2 separate regions of the Homo sapiens genome follow, and region 1 is linked to region 2. Evidence: promoter capture Hi-C in 16 types of primary human blood cells and fetal thymus (Javierre and others, 2016). All regions are on one chromosome and are shown on one strand. Each heading gives the region's core, a stretch centred on a gene start or on the middle of the fragment in contact. The rest is flanking DNA. Distances are from core to core; before and after follow the strand shown. Region 1 overlaps APPL1 (adaptor protein, phosphotyrosine interacting with PH domain and leucine zipper 1). Region 2 holds the start of DENND6A (DENN domain containing 6A).

The links. The method cuts DNA at HindIII sites, captures the fragments that hold promoters and counts their contacts. A CHiCAGO score of 5 or more calls a contact.
Region 1: a fragment that was not itself captured here is called in contact with the fragment with the promoter of DENND6A in region 2 in 2 of 17 cell types (naive B cells and erythroblasts); the score reaches 5.8 in naive B cells.

The regions. Positions count from the first base shown.
Region 1 is chr3:57,243,905-57,248,834 of GRCh38, forward strand. APPL1 (adaptor protein, phosphotyrosine interacting with PH domain and leucine zipper 1) reads left to right here. Exons shown (of 22, transcript NM_012096.3): 8 at 2,172-2,318; 9 at 3,491-3,573; 10 at 4,289-4,447. Among named protein-coding and RNA genes, the nearest start is that of APPL1, 19 kb to the left of the region's middle. The HindIII fragment of the contact is 1,551 bases long and covers 2,370-3,920 here.
Region 2 is chr3:57,691,260-57,696,125 of GRCh38, forward strand. It overlaps DENND6A (DENN domain containing 6A), which reads right to left and starts at 1,818. Exons shown (of 20, transcript NM_152678.3): 1 at 1,523-1,818. The coding sequence starts at 1,759. It overlaps DENND6A-DT (DENND6A divergent transcript), which reads left to right and starts at 1,946. Exons shown (of 2, transcript NR_135550.1): 1 at 1,946-2,083; 2 at 2,557-4,866. RefSeq lists an enhancer at 1,146-1,646 and silencers at 1,368-1,607, 1,718-1,817. The HindIII fragment of the contact is 17,962 bases long and covers 1-4,866 here.

The sequences.
Region 1 (4,930 bases), core at 1,895-4,394, 450 kb before region 2:
TCTGTTGGGTACCTTGGGGGAACAACATGAATAGGCTTCACTCCTGCCCTCAAAGACTGGATACTCCACATTTATTGAAGGCTACCTGTGTGAAGGCATGCAGGTGGACTAGGAACCAGAGTACAAGGATGACAAGAAGGCATGAATTAACTCTGTTATTAGTTAAATACAATAATAGGGGTTTTAATAAAATGCTGAGAGAGCACAGAGAGGGCAGCAGTTCACTTTGATTGGTGAATTGGGAAAGGTTACACTTTTTTTTTTTTTTTGAGACAGGGCCTCATTCTGTCTCCCAGGCAGGAGTGCAGTGGCTCCGTCTCGGCTCACTGCAACCTCCGCCTCCTGGGTTCAAGTGATCCTCCTGTTTCAGCCTCCCCAGTAACTGGGATTACAGGTGTTAGCCACTATGCTCAGCTAATTTTTGTATTTTTAGTAGAGGTGGGGTTTCACCATGTTGGCCAGGCTGGTCTCGAACTCCTGACTTCAGGTGATCTGCCTGCCTCGGCCTCCCAAAGTGCTGGGATTACAGGCTTGAGCCACCACACATGGCCAGCAAAGGTTACACTTTTAGAAGGTGACATTTACATTAAAGATAAGTGGATAACACCAGTTTGGAATCGGAGAGAGTGCTTTCCTGAAAGAAAAACAGCCTTTCAGAGGCACATGGTGGAGTTGGGAGAGTGTAAAGATTAAGAGTACTCTGTGACAATAAAGGAAATGTTAGGAGATATGGCAGAAAGAGTAAGAAGTATATTAGTACCAGATTACTATATTAATGACCTTGAAATTTGTGTTAGAGGGAGTGGACAGCCGCCAAAGGATTCTAAGTAGGTGAATAACATCATGCAATTGTGTTATAGAACAAACATACTAATGAAAATGTGAAGAGGACAAGACTAGAGGATATCCAGTGAAAGGAATTGGAATAGTTTGCAGAGATACAATGAAGGCCTCAGCTAAGGTTGTTACTGAAAATGGAGAGGAAGGAGTACTTTTGGGAGATATTTTTTTAAGTAGAATTGACAAGACTTGTGGTAATAGGAGGAATAAAAAATGAGTCCTAGATTTCTTGGATGTCTGGATGGATCCTGTAGTAATTAAGAAAGGTAAGAAACAAAGCAGAAGAACAGGTTTTGTGTACAAAACTATCTTCAGTTTTGTACATTTTTAGCACATAAACACACATAAAGAACCCAGCTGGAGATGTGTTTACTCTGTCACTTGGGAAGGTGAGAGGGAGGAGATAAAATTTGTGAGTCATTGAGTCATTGGTGTATTGGAATATTAGAATATTCTTCGTACTTGAGGATTCTAAGGAAAGCAGGAAGGCAGAAGAACCTAATGCCTATTACATAATAGGTATTCAATAAATATTTGTTGTCTGAATAAAAGAACTCTAGGGAGCACACGTATTTCAAGTATGGGTGAAGGAAGACAAGCAAGTGCAAGAGAGGAAGACTGATAGGGAGAGAACCAGGAGGGGAGAATGGTATGCTGTGAACTGATCAAAGTCAAAGACTAATGACTAAGCTAATAACAAACAATTGTCTGCCATTCCTCCTTGTCGTAAGCTTTCTCTGCCATGCTTAGTTTAGTTATTGTACCATTCTTAGTTACGTACAGAATTCTGTTTTCAATATGCAGTTTTTTTTTTTTTTGAGACAGTCTCTCTCTGTCACCCAGGCTGGAGTACAGTGGTGTGATCTTGGCTCACTGCAACCTCCCCCTCCCAGGGTGAAGCTATTCTCATGCCTCGGCCTCCCCAGTAGCTGGAATTATAGGTGTGTACCACTGCACCTGGCTAATTTTTTTTTCCATTTTTAATAGAGTCGGTTTCACCATGTTGGCCAGGCTGTTCTTAAACTCCTGACCTCAAGTGATCGTCCCGCCTCGGCCTCCCAAAGTGCTGGGATTACAGGCATGAGCCACCACGCCTGGGCTCAATGTGCATTTTGTAAATTATGTGGTTGGAAGTTAAACAGGAAAATTTGCTTAACCAGTATGTTGAAGGATTTCTAAAAGATCAGAAAACAGGAACATTAATGCTCAATTGCTTGTGATACTCAATTCCTTGGGTAGGCTCTTCTCCACAGCTCCTACTGAAGATAATACAAAATTAAGTAAATAATAGCAGATTATTTACTTAATTATTTAAATCTTTTCATTCAAAGGTGAAGTATGAAGTAACAGAAGATGTGTACACATCCAGAAAGAAACAACACCAGACCATGATGCATTATTTTTGTGCATTAAATACTCTTCAGTACAAGAAGAAAATAGCATTGTTAGAACCTCTACTTGGGTACATGCAAGCTCAGGTAAATACTGTACTGTATTTGGATTATAACTGTCCTAAAAGTTTTATATTAAGCTTGATATTTACATTAAGTATAAGGGTATTATAAACTATTTTCAACATCCTTGTTTATGTCTGTGTTTTAAGAAGTTATTTTTAAAATGTCATCAGACTATTATTTTAAGGAAGTTAGGAAGAATGGTTTTCCTTGCAAATGAAGATTTCAAATATTTTAGGTAAATGAAACCACTTGTTCACCATAGCTGGGGACTGAGAGAACTAAATGAATTTCAGAGTTACACCTATTGCTAGAGCTTCAACTAAACACTTGCTTCATAATAGATCTGAAAAAGAATAAACAAGTTTGAGTTTATCCCATATTCCTTGCATACTTCCTGAGTTAAAAATAATAGATGAACTCCAACGTGCCCAAAGAGTACATCAGGAAGGGGGCTAGAAAATTTGGGTAGTATAAGACAAAGTGTCAGTCTCCTAAAAATCAAGAGTTTAAAGAAAATTGAGGGCAGGCACGGTGCCTTATGCCTATAATCGAGCACTTTGGTAGGCCGAGGTAGGAGGATCATTTGAGTCCAGGAGTTTGAGACTAGCCTCAGCAACGTAGGGAGACCCCATCTCTACAAAAAATGAAAAAATTAGCTGGGCTTGGTAGCATGCCTCGGTGATCCCAGCAACTTGGGAGGCTGAAATGGAAGGATCCCTTGAGCCTAGGAGGCTGAGGCTGCAGTGAGGTTTTATTGTGCAGTCTGGATGACAGACGAGACCCTGTCTCAAAAAAAAAAAAAAAAATTGAATCTATTTAGGTAAAAGAGTACTTTACTGATTATTCCTCAGATAGAAAACTTATCTTTGTAGTAAACATGAAATACTTTATATAATTTATTGGAAATACTTTAAAATTTATTTTCCAATTTTAAAAGATTGTTAACCATATGTATATATTACTTGTTCCAATTCAAAAAATATAAAAGGATATGCAGTGGAATTTAAGTCTAACTTCCTTAATGGCTCCCTGTGCAGTAGAAGTCACAAACTACAATGTATTTTTACACAAATGGGAATATTCCTTTGTTTTTTACTTAACCATGTGTCTTAGAGATTGTTTATATGATTTACTTTAAGTATTGCTTAATCTATTTTTGTATTGTTCAATTCCCCCCACTCCCCACTCTCCAGATAAGTTTCTTTAAGATGGGTTCTGAAAATCTTAATGAACAACTGGAAGAATTTTTAGCTAATATTGGAACAAGCGTTCAGAAGTAAGTATTTTTTTCCTTAAAATTGAAAATGAAATGATGTGAATGATAACAGCTCAATGACATAATGTAAAGATATTTATCATTTACTTTCCTGAGGGAATATTTTCCCTGCCATGAGAGTTTCTTATGTGGTTCATGGTTACTTCTTGTTTTTTTTTAACCTCTTTTTTCCACAGATTGTGAACTTTGAATTTCATAATAGTGATAATTTTATTGATTCTACACTCAGTTTTATGTCTGAATATAACAGACACATAATAGTAACTCCCCATAAGTGAAATTATCTTTAAACTTGAAATTGTGGGAGTTTGATGGGAGATTACTAAATATTGTTTCCAAGCCATGAAAGCTTAGAGAGAAAGCAGTTCTTATCAGGTTCAAAATGCCGAGCAGTGTATGTGGTCAGTCCACGGTATGGAGAGAGATGAAAGTGATTGTTGTTTTAAAGGCACAGGGCAGAACAGTTTGAAAATTACGCCAAAATCAGGCATTCGGGGGGCTTCATTTGTTTTTTGAATTTAGTATTGTTTCCAAAATATCTAAGTTTCAAATAAACTGTAAACCTGTTTTAAAATATATTCGTGTTGTTTTAACCACCCATGCCGCTCTTCCTCTCTTTAAGAAAACATACCCGAAACAAATATGCAGGTAAACATGATTGGTAAGGAGTTCTTTATTGGTTGTGATTTGTAGCAAATAATCTGTTCTGTGTCAGTGTTCGCAGGGAAATGGACAGTGATATAGAGACCATGCAACAGACAATAGAGGATTTGGAAGTAGCCAGTGATCCCTTATATGTGCCTGACCCAGACCCCACCAAATTTCCTGTTAATCGAAATTTAACCCGAAAGGCTGGATACCTTAATGCTAGGAAGTAAGAAAACTATTGTTATTTTTGTATATTGTGTATCATGTAAGACAATACCAAATGAATATAGTAAATAATTGATGTCTGTCATATTTTGATTTTTATTAAAGGTTGAAACTTTTTAGAGGTGTTAGTATTTATGTGAACTTTTTGACAGATGAAGTACATGAATACTTTTCAGAAGTAAAATCCTACCTAGATATTTATTGAATAATGTAGAATGATAAAAGAAGTGAAACCAGGGCTGGGCATGGTGGCTCACGCCTGTGATCCCAGCACTTTGGGAGGCTGAGGCGGGCGGATCACCTGAGGTCAGGAGTTCGAGACCAGCCTGGCCAACATGGTGAAACCCCACCTCTACTAAAAATACAAAAATTAGCTGAGCATGGTGGCTTACACCTGTAATCCCAGCTACTCAGGAGGCTGAGACACGAGAATCACTTGAACATGGGAGGCAGAGGTTGTGGTGAGCCGAGATCCCACCACTGC
Region 2 (4,866 bases), core at 568-3,067:
TAAATCTCTTACTCAAAATCTTTGGGAACTGTTTTTCTTACTTTAATAAGATAAAGAATTGCTCACATATTCACCTATTCTATCAAAAGTATTTATAGAATGCCACTAGGTGCCAGGCACTGCATTTGGCCTTATCAGCTACTATGATTAATTCTTGGTTCTCCTCTAAATTATTGCCTCAATCTACAAATACAGATTAGAGCACATCCTATTTGTATGCTCCACAACTAACATAATGCCTGGTTCTTAGTGGAAACTTAATGTCGCTGAACTGTGTTATAATAAAACATCCAGAAGGCAGGCCGAATACGAAAGCAGTAGCTTCGCATTAAGAAAACTACCCCTAGCCAATTTTCTTAGTCAACCAGGCCACTACAGTATTAATGAAATCGAAATCTGTCACCAATACCAAAAAAAAAAAAAAAAAAAAAAAACCAAAACCAAAACGTCTAAACAAACGCCCTTCTGATAACAATTTCCTTGGACACATGAAAGCAAGCAATTCCTTATGCTAAAAAGACCTTCAACAACGTCAAGAATAGATGTTTCTAAAGCCTTTCGGTAAGGGGCCATACATAAGAATGGAAAAGTTGACTGATTGACAAGCAAATGATGTTCCCTATATTCATCTTGACAGTAGTTTCACACCAACTGTTCCAGAGGCAACATAAAAAAAAATAACAGAAATGAGGCCGGGCACGGTGGCTCACGCATGTAATCCCACCACTTTGGAAGGCCTAGGCGGGCAGACCACCTGAGTCGGGAGTTCGAGACCAGCCTTACCAAAATGGAGAAACCCCGTCTCTATTAAAAATACAAAATTAGCCGGGCATGGTCGCATGCCTGTAACCCCAGCTACTCGGGAGGCTGAGGCAGGAGAATTGCCTGAATCCGGGAGGCAGAGGTTGCGGTGAGCCAAGATCGCGCCATTGCACTCCAGCCTGAGCAACAAGAGCAAAAACTCCGTCTCAAAAAAAAAAAAAAAAAAAAACAGAAATGAGGCACAAAAGGAGGAAAGGGAGAAAATGCGTGCTGAGATAAGCATTTCGACTCAGGCTGAGGGAAACGCTCAAACAGTTACTGCAAATGACTAAAACAATCTGAGCCTTAAAACTTGGTTGTGCAAGTTCGGCTACTAGAGTTCATCATCTGTTATGGGCATTGTTCTTGAAAAAGTACCAAACAAACATCCTGCCTGCGGGCTTCTCCGGGTGGGTGCTACTAACCCTTTTAGTTAATTCTGTGACTCTGCGTTTAAAAGAAATAAAGAAAGAACAGGATGAACATCAACAAGTATTTAGGAGGGGCCTAGAGAGAACTTTTCACCCCTAGCCGCAGCCCAAGATCCTCCCACGGGAAGTGCCGTAGGACCGCAGCCCGAAAGAGCGCGGGAGGGGAGACTGGCCACGCCCGGATGCGCCGCGGACAGGGTCCTGGCCGGTCAGCCCGCGGGCCGCTGGCTTTGCTGCAGCCGCCCCGGCGCAGGGGAGGAGCGCCGAGAAAGGGCGGGGCCGGGCCTCACCTCCACGGCCTGGCCCAGCTCCAGGTCGAAGCCCACCACACACACGCAGTGCAGCCAGGCGGAGAAGCTGTCCCAGCGCAGCAGGCCCCGGCCACGGCCATCGTCCTCTTCATCGTCCTCTGGCGCGCCTCCCGCCGCCACAAGGGCCGGCGCCTCGCGGCCCTCGGCCCCTGCCACCGCTTCGTCCAACGGCCTTCGAGAGCCGGGCCCCAAGCCCGCAGGGCCCCTCAAAGCCATCGGCCGCCCCCTGACCGTTCGCGCCGCCTCCACAGCGGACCGCGCCGCAGAGCGCGCTTGCCTCCGCGCAGGCGCAGACGCTGCTGTCGCAGCCGCTGGGGACCCACTCAGTCCGGGCGGGGCTGCGGGTCACGTGACCCTGGGAGCGGACGTGGGGACGTCACGCTGCCGCTTGTCTCGGATTGTGAAGCCGGTCCTGGCTTCCTTGTCTAAAAGCTCTTTGGGACTGAAATGGCTGTTTATGAATCCTTGTCAACCTCGTTCGCAGTCAACGACCAGGGAATAAATTATTCGTGGAATGACACAGTTCATAATTATTATAAGGTATTATTAAATTATGAAAGCGTAGGCCGGGCGCGGTGGTTCACACCTGTAATCACAGCATTTTGGGAGGCCGATGCGGGCGGATCATCAGGTCAGGAGTTCGAGACCAGCCTGACCAACATGGTGAAACCCCGTCTCTACTAAAAATACGAAAAAATTAGCCAGGCGTGGTGGAGCGCGCCTGTGATCCCAGCTACTCAGGAGGCTGAGGCAGGAGAATCGCTTGAACCCAGGAGGTTACAGTTAGCTGAGATTGCGCCACTGTATTCTGTCTACCCTGGGCGACAGAGCGAGATTCCGTCTCAAAAAAATAAAAATAAAATATATGAACGCATAATGGTGACGGTGGCTAACATTGAACGCTTACTTTGTGCCAGTTGATATGCCAAGTACAAGTGCGAATACTTACAAATATTACCTTATTGAATCTTCACATAATCGCAAATAAGTAGACTATTTATTTCTTTTTACAGATAAGGAAATGGAGGTCCTGGAGGTTACATGACTAGCCCAACAAGTATGACAACTCCGATATCGGCTTGCGGTTCACTCATTCAGTTTGCTGATTCAGAGATCTGTGCATTCACTCACCTGTTCCTTCTCCAGCAAGGCCTCCCCACCCTACCACCTCCTCCTTTCTTAGTTTGGCTGTCTGTGACTCACTCAACACACATCCCCAGACCTTTCTGGAACTCCAGGTTGGGCAGATTGGCCTCCACAGCAACCTGTGGATCTCTGAACACTGGGGCAAGGGCCTGGTCTCAAGCAGCTTCGTATTCTGAGATCAGTTTTTACTGAGTATTGGACCAGCCAGGATACTAACTAGTATTTATTCAGCACCTACTATGTTGAGTATAAATAGCATAGTAAAAGTAGGAAACACACAATAATACCTCAACAGAAAAATGAGTAAACCAGCGAGGTGTCACGCCTGTAGTCCCAGGTTCTTGGGAAGCTGAGGCCGGCTAAGTTCAAGGAGGATCGCTTGAGCAGGAGTTCCAGGCTGCAGCGCGCTATGATCGCGCCTGCGAACAGCCATTGCACTCCAGCCTGGGCAACAGAGCGCGACTGTGTCTCTAAAAAACAACGCAAAACAAAAAACACGGCAGAACTTAAGCATTTTGCTGCACTGCCCAGTGAAATCCATTCCATTTGACAAATACTGCCCTCTTAACATTCTTAGAATTTTTTTTTGGAGCAAGTGTTAGCGTCCCTGTTTTCAAGGAGGTGGTCAAGTATGCACAGACATCAGTAGTGACGTTTGCTGGAGACTTCCTTTAGACAAAAATGAACTTAGGGACAGCACTTAAGTTAGAGGCCAAGTCTTTGGCCAAAGTAGCCTGCCATCCTACTCCAGAGAACTGCTGTGGTTAAAAGAGGAAAAACTGTATTCTGCGATCAAGTAAGGCTCTAAACCCAGTATTAGGAAAGAACAGTAGCCTTTTGTATTAGAAAGAACACTGGCGTGGAAGTCAAAAGTTCTGGATTCTAGTGCCAGCTAGAATCTACCACGATCGTGGTAGGCAAGCTGCTCCAAAACCCAGTTTCTGGTAAATGAGAGTGATGATTACTAACTCACCTCACTGACTGTTGGGAAAAGCTAAGCTATCCTAATGTACACATTTTACCAGATGCTACTTCATTATTAATTATTAATGATCTCAAAACACCAGTTGTGGCCAAGCACAGTGGGTCACACCTGTAATCCCAGCACGTTGGGAGGCTGAGGCGGTAGAATCACGTGAGTCCAGGAGTTTGAGACCAGCCTGGGCAACATAGGGAGGCCCCGTCTCTTAAAAAAAAATTAAAAATTAGCTGGGCATGGTGGCACACACCTATAATTCCAGCTACTTGAGAGGCTGAGATAGGAGAATCACTGGAACCCAGAAGGTCAAGGCTGCAATGAGCCATCACTGTGCTACTCTACTCCAGCCTGGGCAACACAGCAAGACCCTGTGTCAAAAACCAGCACCAAAAAAGAACATAAGTTGTTCCACAGGGCTGGTTCTTCGACACATAGACACAAACTGCGATTCTGTGAAGTGTTGCTTTATAATATTGGGTTAAGGAGAAGGTCAAGGCTGCAGTGAGCCATCACTGTGCCACTCTACTCCAGCCTGGGCAACACAGCAAGACCCTGTGTCAAAAACCAGCACCAAAAAAGAACATAAGTTGTTCCACAGGGCTGGTTCTTCGACGCATAGACACAAACTGCGATTCTGTGAAGTGTTGCTTTATAATATTGGGTTAAGGATGATCTTGTCAAAATACAGTACCCTGAAAACAACATATTAGGAGAGCCAGAAGTTTCCAAAGAAAGAAAGCACACCAAAGCTCTAGAGAATTTTGAAAGTAAAAAACTTGTTTGGGGAGAAAAAAAACAAAAACAGAAAAAAGCATTACTTAAATCTTTATACACAGAAACAGAATAACCACTAGGGTAAACAAAGCAGCTATGGCTTTATTTCCCTCTACCTTCGTAACTTTGACATTCTGCCTTACAGTCTATTTTCACACAGTTTCTGTTGTTAATGGGAGCTGAGGAACAAGGTACTGACACCTTCTTATGGTTCATCAAAAGAACCTTTGACTCTGAAAGGATCTTGGATAGGATCATCTCTCCAAACTTCCTATTCATGGATCTTCTGACATTCAGTTAGCCAGCCTCTTTTCTAACACTCTCTATTAAAGTTAAGTCACTAGCCTGTGATCCCAGCACTTTGGGAGGCCAAGGCCGGTGGATCACCTGAGGTCAGGAGTTCCAGACCAGCCTGGCCATCATG